Regions from separate parts of the Homo sapiens genome. Here region 2 is linked to region 1. Evidence: promoter capture Hi-C in 16 types of primary human blood cells and fetal thymus (Javierre and others, 2016). All regions are on one chromosome and are shown on one strand. Each heading gives the region's core, a stretch centred on a gene start or on the middle of the fragment in contact. The rest is flanking DNA. Distances are from core to core; before and after follow the strand shown.

Region 1 (5,160 bases), core at 1,782-4,281:
TTATAAAGAAAAGAGGTTTAATTGACTCACAGTTTCACATGGTGAGGGAAGCCTCAGGAAACTTACAATCATGGTAGAAGGCACCTCTTCACAGGGCAGCAGGAGAGAGAATGAGTGCCGAGTGAAGGGGGAAGCCCCTTATAAAACCATCAGATCTTGTAAGAACTCACCCTCTATCATGAGAACAGCATGGGGAAAACTGTCCCCAGGATTCAATTGTCTCCTCCTGGTCACCTTTGACATGTGGGAAGTATTACAATTAAAGGTGAGATTTGGTTGGAGACACAGAGCCAAACAATATCACCATCATAATTTTGTCATTCATCCTATAAGGGGAATTTGATATCTTCCCTTTTATGAGTAGGTAGCCCTTGTTGAGTGGGTGGTGACATTTTGTGGGGGAAATGAAAATATTTGAATATTCTTGCTTATTATATGTGTTTTCTCATTGGAAGCATTAATAATATTTACTGTATACTATGATGCATAGGACTTGGAAATTTAAATCGGTATAAGAAGAAGCTTTCGCCTGGGTGCTATGGCTCAGGCCCGTAATCCCAGTACTTTTGGAGGCCAAGGACAGAGAATCACTTGAGCCCAGGAGCTTGATACCAGCCTAGGCAACATGGAAAAACCCTGTCTCTACAACAAAATACAAAAACTAGCCTGTGTGGTGGCATGCACCTGTAGTCCCAGCTACTTAGGAGGCTGAGATGGAAGGATCACTTGGACCTGGGAGGTAGAGGTTGCAGTGAGCTGTGATCATGGCACTGCACTCCAGCCTGGGTGACAGAGCAAAACTTTGTCACAAAAATAAAGAAAGAAAGAAAAGAAAAGAAAAAGACAAGTCAAGAAAAAGCTCTTAACCTAAGACTATTTACAATTTAATTGAAGAGATGGTAAGTAAATAAAATGATGTGAACAAGATGGTAGTATGTAGGCAATTGGGAGGAGAGTGAGATCATTTTGTCCAGGGTGATGAGATTTTTGGAGAATTGGGTTTTGGTCATGTCATTTAGAAACAAGAGTAAAAGCATGAGCAGACAGAATGAATGACAGAGAACATTACAAGGATAAGAAATGTAAGAAATAAATGCCTAGAATAGTAGTAGAAATGAGTAGACTTCTGAAGTTAAGGCAGGTTAAGGCTACTAGTGAGAAGTGTTGGGGTGAAAGTATGGTTCAGTAACATGTTAACCAAGTTTATCTTTCATGTATATTTCTTTACTTGGCCCCAAATCCTAGGCCATTGAGAATTTGTAACTAAAATGTTCTAGATGTTTCCAAAAGAGACAGAATATATCAGGGATAGTTTTCATTACATGCCTTCTTTAGTTTCCTGGTGTAGTTTTTTGAATATACTTATCTCCCTTTCCCCCATCCCCATTGCTAGATCTTTTAATCCAGGGGTCCCCAATCCCCAGGCCAGAGACTGCTACCGGGATCTGTGGCCTGCGAGGAACCAAGCAGCACAGCAGGAGGTGAGCGGAGGGCAAGTGAGTGCAGCTTTATCTGTATTTACAGGGGCCCCCCATGGCTGGCATTAGGGCCTGAACTCCGTTTCCTGTCAGATCAGCAGTGGCATTAGATTGTGATAGGAGCGAGAACCCTATTGTGAACTGCGCATGTGAGGGATTTAGGTTGCGTGCTCCTTATGAGAATCTAATGCCTGATGATCTGTCACTGTCTCCCATCACCCCCAGATGAGACTGTCTAGTTGCAAGAAAACAAGCTCATGGCTCCCACTGATTCTACATTATGGTGAGTTGTATAATTATTTCATTACATATTACAGTGTAGTAACAGTAGAAATAAAGTGCACAGTAAATATAATGTGCTTGAATCATCCCCAAACCATCCTCCCTCCCCCAGAAAAAACTGTCTTCCATGAAACTGGTCCCTGGTGCCCAAAAGGTTGGGGACCGCTGTTTTAATCATCAAGGATTCTGACGAACCTCTTTGAATTTTCTATTTAATTCATATTCCATAAGTAAAACTTGATTCCTTGTTTGTTTGTTTTTCCCCTAAGAATTTAGAAAGCAGAGTGCATGTTGGGGAGACCTGGTTTAAATTCGAGAAGCAGATAACACAAAGACAAGTAAAAAAAAAAAACATGATGTACACAGGATTGACAGAATAAAAAAAAAGTCTTTGTGCAAGGGAATGTGACTATACAGAAATGTGGAGAGGAAAATACGTAATGTTAGTGTTAATAACTTTTGACCCCATTTAGGTCACTTTGAGTAATGAAGCTCAAAACACTAGATTATATTTTTAGCAAAGTAAGTGCAGTATCCAGTCTCTCACAGATGTCATGTGTCTCAGGCCGTTTGGAAAATTCAGCATCTGCCGCATTCCCAGTCTTTGATGAGGACACTCCGCGAACTACAAGCACCCTCAGTGGGAGGACCTCCCAGGTCGGGGTGTGAGGGCCAATGAGGAGGCTGGGGAGGGGAGGCAAGAGTTACGGAAACGGGGCCACAGCACTCCAGATGCCGCGGCGGGAGGAAGCGGGGCTGCAGAGGACTCAAAACGCGTTCAGAGAGGCCCATCCAAATGCCAGGAGACAGACGGCAAGGATGCTTAAGAGGAGACGTGACTGGGCGAGGCAGATGAGGAGAGGGCCGTGGGCCAAGGTCACCCGCTAAGAGGCGGCAGGTTTACCACTGAGACACGAGGCCGTGGTTTTTGCCCGTGCCTCCAGAAAGAGCGTGGCGAGATCCCCGCAGAACCCAGGCGTGGGAGGCCCTGGGGAAGAGCCACGAGGCCCGACTCTAGTGGCTCAGGGGCCCTGGGCAGCGGCGCGCCACCGCTCGCCCCACCCTCAGCCGCTCTCCTCTTCCGGGCGCGCTGCTTGCCTGCGTGCGCCGGGACGCGCGGGGCCGAGCGTCTGAAGCGCGCCCGTACGCGGAGCGGCGCTTTCTAGGAGCCCCGCCCTCAGGTGCGCTCTGCAGGAGGCGGGGCGCGACTTCGGCGCCGCCAGCTCTGCCTGCGCCAGGAGCGCGCGGGTGCGCGCGGCCGCGCCCTCGCACAGATCCCAGCTGGGTCACCCGCACTGAGTCAACAGACTGAGCGCGTCCAGGCCTGACAGCTCTGCGGCTCGGGCCCTGAGGTGAGGCGGGCGTCGCGGGCGGCGGCGGCGCTTGAGGCTAGCCTGGGACAGCCGTCCCTGGGGGAGTTGAGGGGACGAGGAGGGGCTGGCCAGCGAGGGACGGCGGGGAGAGAAGGGGAGTTCGGCGTCTGAGGTGTGGGGTGAAGCGGGCTCGGAAGCGGGCAGAGGCGGCGAGCTGAGGGAAACAGACCTCCCTCAGCTCCCGGGAAGCGCGGGTTGCCAGCCTCGGGGATGCGGTGGGAGCGCCCAGGATGCGGACGTGAGGGGGTCGGGGCCCTGCGGCGGGGGCTCCGCGAGGCTCCCCTGGGACCGGGTCCGGCCGTGGGACTTCGGGACACTGCCTTTGCCTGGACGCTGTCGTTCCACCCTCAGCAACCTCAGGGAAAGAAGGAAAACAAATATTGATGTAAATTTCCGTCTGAACAGCTGGGTAATGAGCGCTTGCTCTTCCCTGCGAGGTTACGCGCGGATCATTACCTTGCGTGTTAAAAGGAGTTTCAGTGAGAAGAAAATGCGCAGATCTCATGACACAGTTTGGGAGGGAAATTCCCTGATCCTAAAACACGAATAGGAGCTCCAGGCATGGAAATACTTAATTGGATCGGAAAGCTGGGCAGGCTGGAGCTATTAAGCTGAAGGAGGTTTTCCCCTGGGCTCCTCAGGCTTCGATTTACGTTTTAAATAAATAAGTCCGAAAATAATGAAGATAATAACCACGTTTACTTTCTACAAGGGCGTTCTGAAGGAATCTAAGGGAAGAGGAGTATTTGCTGGACTACAGCTTTAAGCCAGGCTCGGTATTAGCTCTTTTCATTCTGACAGCAACCCTGTAGGATTGGAGGGGGTTATTCCAGTTGGGCAGGTGTGGAGAATGGGCCTCAAAGAGGTTAAGTAACTTATTAAGGTCTCAGCTAGTAAAAGGATGGAGTTGAGATTCCAACCCGGGCTGCCAGACCCTAATTCTGGTGCTTTATTTAGTATATTTTGTGTTTGCCGGGAGAGCAATATTGTATGTGTTTTAGGGAAGACTCCATAGTAGGGAACATTATTAGGGCAGTTAGGGCTTTGTGGGTATTTGTGTTAAAATCAAACTAAAGAGGCGTTAATCTTTGCATATGTGCTGTTTGAGTATATTTCCTTTCAAACAGATTTAGTGTAGGGAAATCTTACATTCACTATAAGAGCAAATTTATTAGTACATTCCATGTGTATTGCATGTCTTTTATTTTTAAAGAGACAGCGTCTCGGGCTAGAGTGCAGTGGTGCGATCAAAGTTCACTGCAGCCTTGAACGTCTGGACTCTAGGGACCCTGCTGAATAGCTGGGGCTACAGGCGTGTGTCACTGCGCCCAGGTAATTTTTTATTTGTTTTTCAGAGACGAAGTCTTGCTATATTGCCCAGGCTGGTTTGTTGCATGTCTTTTACATTCCAGATACCATACTATGTGCCAAGAGTACCGATATGAATACAATTTATAATCTCTGTCCTTGAGTTTAGTTGAGAGGGTGATTGCATAAAAGAATTTTATGATATTGTACTAAGTCATAACTTTTCTAGTATGTAAATTAGTTGGATTAAAAATAGTTTTAAGGGCAAGCTTTTAAGGACCTATTATGCATAAGAAAATTTATTGGATGACTTGTCCTCTGTGTACCATTGCATTGTTATTTTCTCCCTCAGCAAGAAACACTGTGATAAAATTTAGGTTAAATTATATTGACAACTAGCATTTTTTTTTTTTTGAGACAGGGTCTCATTCTGTCACCCAGGATGAAGTGCAGTGGCAGGATCTTGGCTCACTGCAGCCTTGACTTCGCAGGCTCAAGTGATCCTCCCACCTCAGCCTCCCAAGTAGCTGGGACCACAGTTGTGTGCCCCTACGCCTGGCTATTTTTTTTTTTTTTTTTTTGGTAGAGACAGTGTCTCTCTATGTTGCCCAGGTTGATCTTGAACTCTTGGGCTCAAGCCTTCCTCCCACTGGGATTGCCACGTGAGCCACTGCACCTGACTGCATTTTGTTTTATTATTGCACCACCTTACAGTAAAT
Region 2 (5,013 bases), core at 972-3,471, 1.3 Mb after region 1:
CTTAGTAGCTGGGGATTACAGGTGCCCAGCACCATGCCTGGCTAACTTTTGTATTTTTAGTAGAGACAGCATTTCACCATGGTGGCCAGGCTGGTCTTGAACTACTGACCTCAAGTGATCCAACCCCCTCGGCCTGCGTGTGTTGGAATCACAGGCGTGAACCACTGCGCTGGGCTGATTTTTTAATTTTAGTCTGTATCCTGCTGAAATAACTCTAGTTTAAAAAAGGTCCAGGTGTAATGGCTCATGCCTGTAATCCCAGCACTTTGGGAGGCCGAGGCAGGATCACTTGAGGCCAGAAGTTTGAGTCCAGACTGGGCAACATAGCAAGACCTCATCGCTACAAATAATAAAAAAATTAGCCAGGCGTGCTAGCGTGTGCCTTTGGTCCCAGCTACTTGGGAGGCTGAAGTAGGAGGATGGCTTGTGCCCAGGAGGTCAAGGCTGCTGTGAGCTGTGCCACTGCACTCCAGCCTGGGCAACAGAGCAAGACCCAGTTTCCAAAAAAAAAAAATAATAATAATAAAGAAAAAGGAAAAAAATAACTTTTACATAATCCTGAAGCTTAAGTTTAGGGTTTGACTTAGATTGGTTTGATAATAGTCCGTTTCTGGGTAATTCTGGAAACAAAAAAAGTGCCAGAGCTGTGATACCTGTGATACTTGGAGGTCACATAGTTAACATGCACACCTTGGCAAACACATGCAGGCCAGATTCTTAGAAACTTCCTGGCTAAACATTAAGGTCTTCATTCAAAACCAGGTCTGTGTCGGGCGCAGTGGCTCACGCCTGTAATCCCAGCACTTTGGGAGGCCGAGGCGGGCAGATCACTAGGTCAGGAGATCGAGACCATCCTGGCCAACATGGTGAAACCCCGTCTCTACTAAAAACACAAAAAATTAGCCTGGCGTGGTGGCGGGCGCCTGTAGTCCCAGCTACTCGGGAGGCTGAGGCAGGAGAATGTCATGAACCTGGGAGGCGGAGCTTGCAACTTGCAGTGAGCCAAGATCTCGCCACTGCGCTCCAGCCTGGGTGACCACGCCTGGCCAATTTTTTTGTATTTTTAGTAGAGACGGGGTTTCACTGTGTTAGCCAAGATGGTCTCGATCTCCTGACCTCGTGATCCGCCCACCTCGGCCTCCCAAAGTGTTGGGATTACATGCGTGAGCCACCGCGCCCGGCCTCAATGCCCGGCTAACTTTTGTCCTTTTTTTGAGATGGCATCTCACTCTGTCACCCAGGCTGGAGTGCAGTGGCGTGATCCCGGCTCACTGCAACCTCTGCCTCGCGGGTTCAAGCGATTCTCCTGCCTCAGCCTACCGAGTAGATGGGATTACAGGCGCCCATCACCACGCCCGGTTAATTTTTGTATTTTTAGTAGAGATGGGGTTTCACCATGTTGGCCAGGCTGGTCTAGAACTCCTGATCTCAAGTGATTCACCTGCCTCGGCCTCCCAAAGTGTTAGGATTACAGTTGAGAGCCACCATGCCTGGCCTTTTGTACTTTTAGTAGAGACGGGGTTTGGCCGTGTTGCCCAGGTTGGTCTTGAGCTTGTGGCCCCAAGTGAATCACTCACTTCAGCCTCCCAAAGTGCTGGGATTACAGGCATTAGCCACTGCGCCCTGCCAATTTGATGGAAAATTTTAATGAGCAAATGCACTATAGTTTCTTATAATCTTGTCCCATTGATAGATTTTTCTTAGCAAATGGGTTTGTGCCTATGTGCACACATTAATAGTCCCTAAATGGAATACTCTCTTGCCTTCAGTAGTAATTCAATAGCATCCCTCCTTCAAATGAAGCTATTATTTTACAATTCAAGGGAAAAAAGTACTTGTTTTTCTTTTTTTTCTTTTCTTTTTTTTTTTTGAGACGGAGTCTCGCACTGCGGAGTGCAGTGGCACAATCTCAGCTCACTGCAAGCTCCGCCTCCCGGGTTCACGCCATTCTCCTGCCTCAGCCTCCCGAGTAGCTGGGACTACAGGCGCCCGCCATCACGCCCGGCTAATTTTTTTTGTATGCTTAGTAGAGACGGGGTTTCACCGTGTTAGCCAGGATGGTCTCAATCTCCTGACCTCACAATCCGCCCGCCTCAGCCTCCCGAAGTGCTGGGATTACAGGTGTGAGCCACCGCGCCCAGCCAAGCACTTGTTTTTCTTTGGGTAGGAAAACGTCTATAAAACACATACACTGTTTGTTTGTTTATTTATTTATGTGAGACTGAGTCTTGCTCTTGTCACCCAGGCTGGAGTGCAGTGGCACAATCTTGGCTCCCTGCAACCTCCACCTCCTGGGTTTAAGCGATTCTCCTGCCTCAGCCTCCCAAGTAGCTGGGATTACAGGCACCCACCACCAGGCCCGGCTACTTTTTGTATTTTTAGTAGACACAGGGTTTTGCCACATTGGCCAGGCTGGTCTCGAACTCCCGACCTTGTGAGCCACCTGCCTTGGCCTCTCAAAGTGCTGGGATTACAGGCGTGAGCCACCACGCCCGACCCATAGCTCTTCACAACTGCCTTGTAAAGAAAGCATCATTTGGCACTGTTAGTATTTCTCTTGAATTTTTTTTTTTTTTTTAGACAGAATCTCGCTCTATCGGCCAGGCTGGAGTGCGGTGGCACCATCTTGGCTCACTGCAACCTCCGCCTCCCGGGCTCAAGCAATTTTCCTGCCTCAGCCTCCCGAGTAGTGGGATTACAGGCATGTGCCACCACAGCCTGCTAATTTTTGTATTTTTAGTAGAGACGGGTTTTCACCATGTTGGCCAGGCTGGTCTCGGACTCCTGACCTCAGGTGATCCGCCCGCCTCGGCCTCCCAAAGTGCTGGGATCACAGGCATAAGCCACCGCGCCCGGATAAAATCATTTTTAAGGCTGACCATTCACACATAGAAACAAACTCATAAAAACTGACCTGCCACCTATAATGCATCACCTCAATTTCAGGAAATATTTGAGCAAGCAATAAATAAATTAGATAAAGCAGGACATTAACATTTTAAAAATATAGCTAATTTTAGTTGAAAATATAGCTAATTTCTTTAGTTGAATTTGGTTCAAATTGGATCAAGCGGTATGATCTTCTGAGAAAATCTTCTAGTATCTCGCTCCAAGTATCCAGAAGTACCTCAGAATGTTTCAAATTATTAAAAATACTTCTCAGCTGGTTCTTACCCCCACCTCCTCAAGTACTTCATTACTTTATCCATGAAATATCACCATTCTCACATTAAGGACAAGAAGTCTGAGACCTACGGTAATAGCTTCAATCATGAAGAGCGAAAGCTGTAATAACCATGTAGCTTTGTCTAAGTGTGCAGAGATCTGAAAGGCCACCAGGTTGGCTCTTTAACATAAAGCAGCAGAGAGTTTGCCTAAAGGAATTAACAGAAATAGGGAAGTAACTTTTATTTGCAGATCCTAGGAAGGTAGATTACAAACAACAGCAAATCTTAGTGTCTCTAAATAACACTCTAGGCCATTTGAAATATAAAAAGGTAATTATTTTCCTTCAGAAAATATCTCCAAAAGCTCACTTTTTTTGAGACGGAGTCTCGCTCTGTCACCCAGGCTGGAGCGTAGTGGCACAATCTCAGCTCACTGCAACCTCTGCCTCCCGGGTTCAAGCTGTCCTCCCACCTCAGCCTCCTGAGTAGCTGGAACTACCGGCGTGTGCCTCTTGTCCAGCTAAATTGTTGTATTTTTAGTAGAGACAGGGTTTCACCATGTTGGCCAGGCAGGTCTCTCCAACTCCTGACCTCAAGTGACCCACTTGCTTCAGTCTCCCAAAGTGCTGGGATTATAGGCGTGAGCCACCATGCCCAGCCACAATTTTATTTAAACCTCCTGCAGAATTTGGATAGGAGAATAAAAGCTTTACCAATAGGAAAATACTTTTCATGAAATGGTTTCAAGGATTGTGAACTTGGCAGGTAAAGTATAACAGGTACTGAAAATACTTTTAGCCAAGGAAATCTATTGATGCAAATTAAATGTATTTATAAGCCCAAGGCCTGGGGTAGAAACATCCTAAGAATATCACAAATGTACAGTTTACTGCCTGAATTATTGGAAGCAAAATAGCTGTATTATGTAGATCTTTCTGAATAGCAGAAGCTTGTCAAAGATTTCTGCTTGTCACAGAAAAGCAGCTTTTGGAATTCATTATGTTCTATAAGAATGTATGGTTTTCAGGCCAGGCGTGGTGGCTCATGTCTATAATCCCAGCACTTTGGGAGGCCGAGGCAGGCGGATCACCTGGGATCGGGAGTTCGAGACCAGCCTGACCAACATGGAGAAACCCTGTCTCTACTAAAAATACAAAATTAGCCAGGCGTGGTGGCGCATGCCTGTAATCCCAGTTACTTGGGAGGCTGAGGCAGGAGAATTGCTTGAACCCGGGAGGCAGAGGTTGTGGTGAGCCGAGATGGCATCATTGCACTCCAGACTGGGCAACAACAGTGAAACTCCATCTCAAAAAAAAAAAAAAAGAAGTATGTTTTTCAAAAATTACTTCTGAAGGACTAAAGCTCTGTAGTTGATGAAACTATAAAATGTCTATGTATTTGTATGGTGATAGAAACTATACAACACTTTATACCGTTAAATACACATATGAAATTAACATCTTCCTGGTTTCAGATTTCCATAAAATTTATCCTTTTTGTACAATTTGGCAAGGCTAACAGCTATAGAAAACATATTAACCAACCAACCATTGCTTCATTAGAAACTGCACCAAATCCAATGTCAAAAACATTACTTTATTTTTCTAGGATGAAATGTCCTATTACGTACAAAAGAATTGCTGTTTAGAATTTGCCACAATTTGTTAAAAACATAGCAATCTATTGCCTACAGGTAGGAAAGTTCTTGCTGCAACAAATTTTAAATGATTAAGCCCATATATATTTATATATATGAATAAATAGTACAGAAATACTGTGACGTGATGAGATGCAGAATAATTTTATAACTCATTAAAATGTAGAATTCTTGCATCAGCACAGTGCA

What was found. The method cuts DNA at HindIII sites, captures the fragments that hold promoters and counts their contacts. A CHiCAGO score of 5 or more calls a contact.
Region 2: a contact is called between a fragment that was not itself captured here and the fragment with the promoter of ABCA5 in region 1, in 1 of 17 cell types (total B cells). The highest score is 5.6, in total B cells.

The regions. Positions count from the first base shown.
Region 1 is chr17:69,325,004-69,330,163 of GRCh38, reverse strand. It overlaps ABCA5 (ATP binding cassette subfamily A member 5), which reads left to right and starts at 3,031. Exons shown (of 39, transcript NM_172232.4): 1 at 3,031-3,112. RefSeq lists an enhancer at 2,525-2,664 and silencers at 2,745-3,124, 3,255-3,344. The HindIII fragment of the contact is 4,188 bases long and covers 525-4,712 here.
Region 2 is chr17:67,984,108-67,989,120 of GRCh38, reverse strand. BPTF (bromodomain PHD finger transcription factor) reads right to left here. Exons shown (of 28, transcript NM_182641.4): 28 at 4,743-5,013. Among named protein-coding and RNA genes, the nearest start is that of C17orf58, 9.9 kb to the left of the region's middle. The HindIII fragment of the contact is 3,310 bases long and covers 567-3,876 here.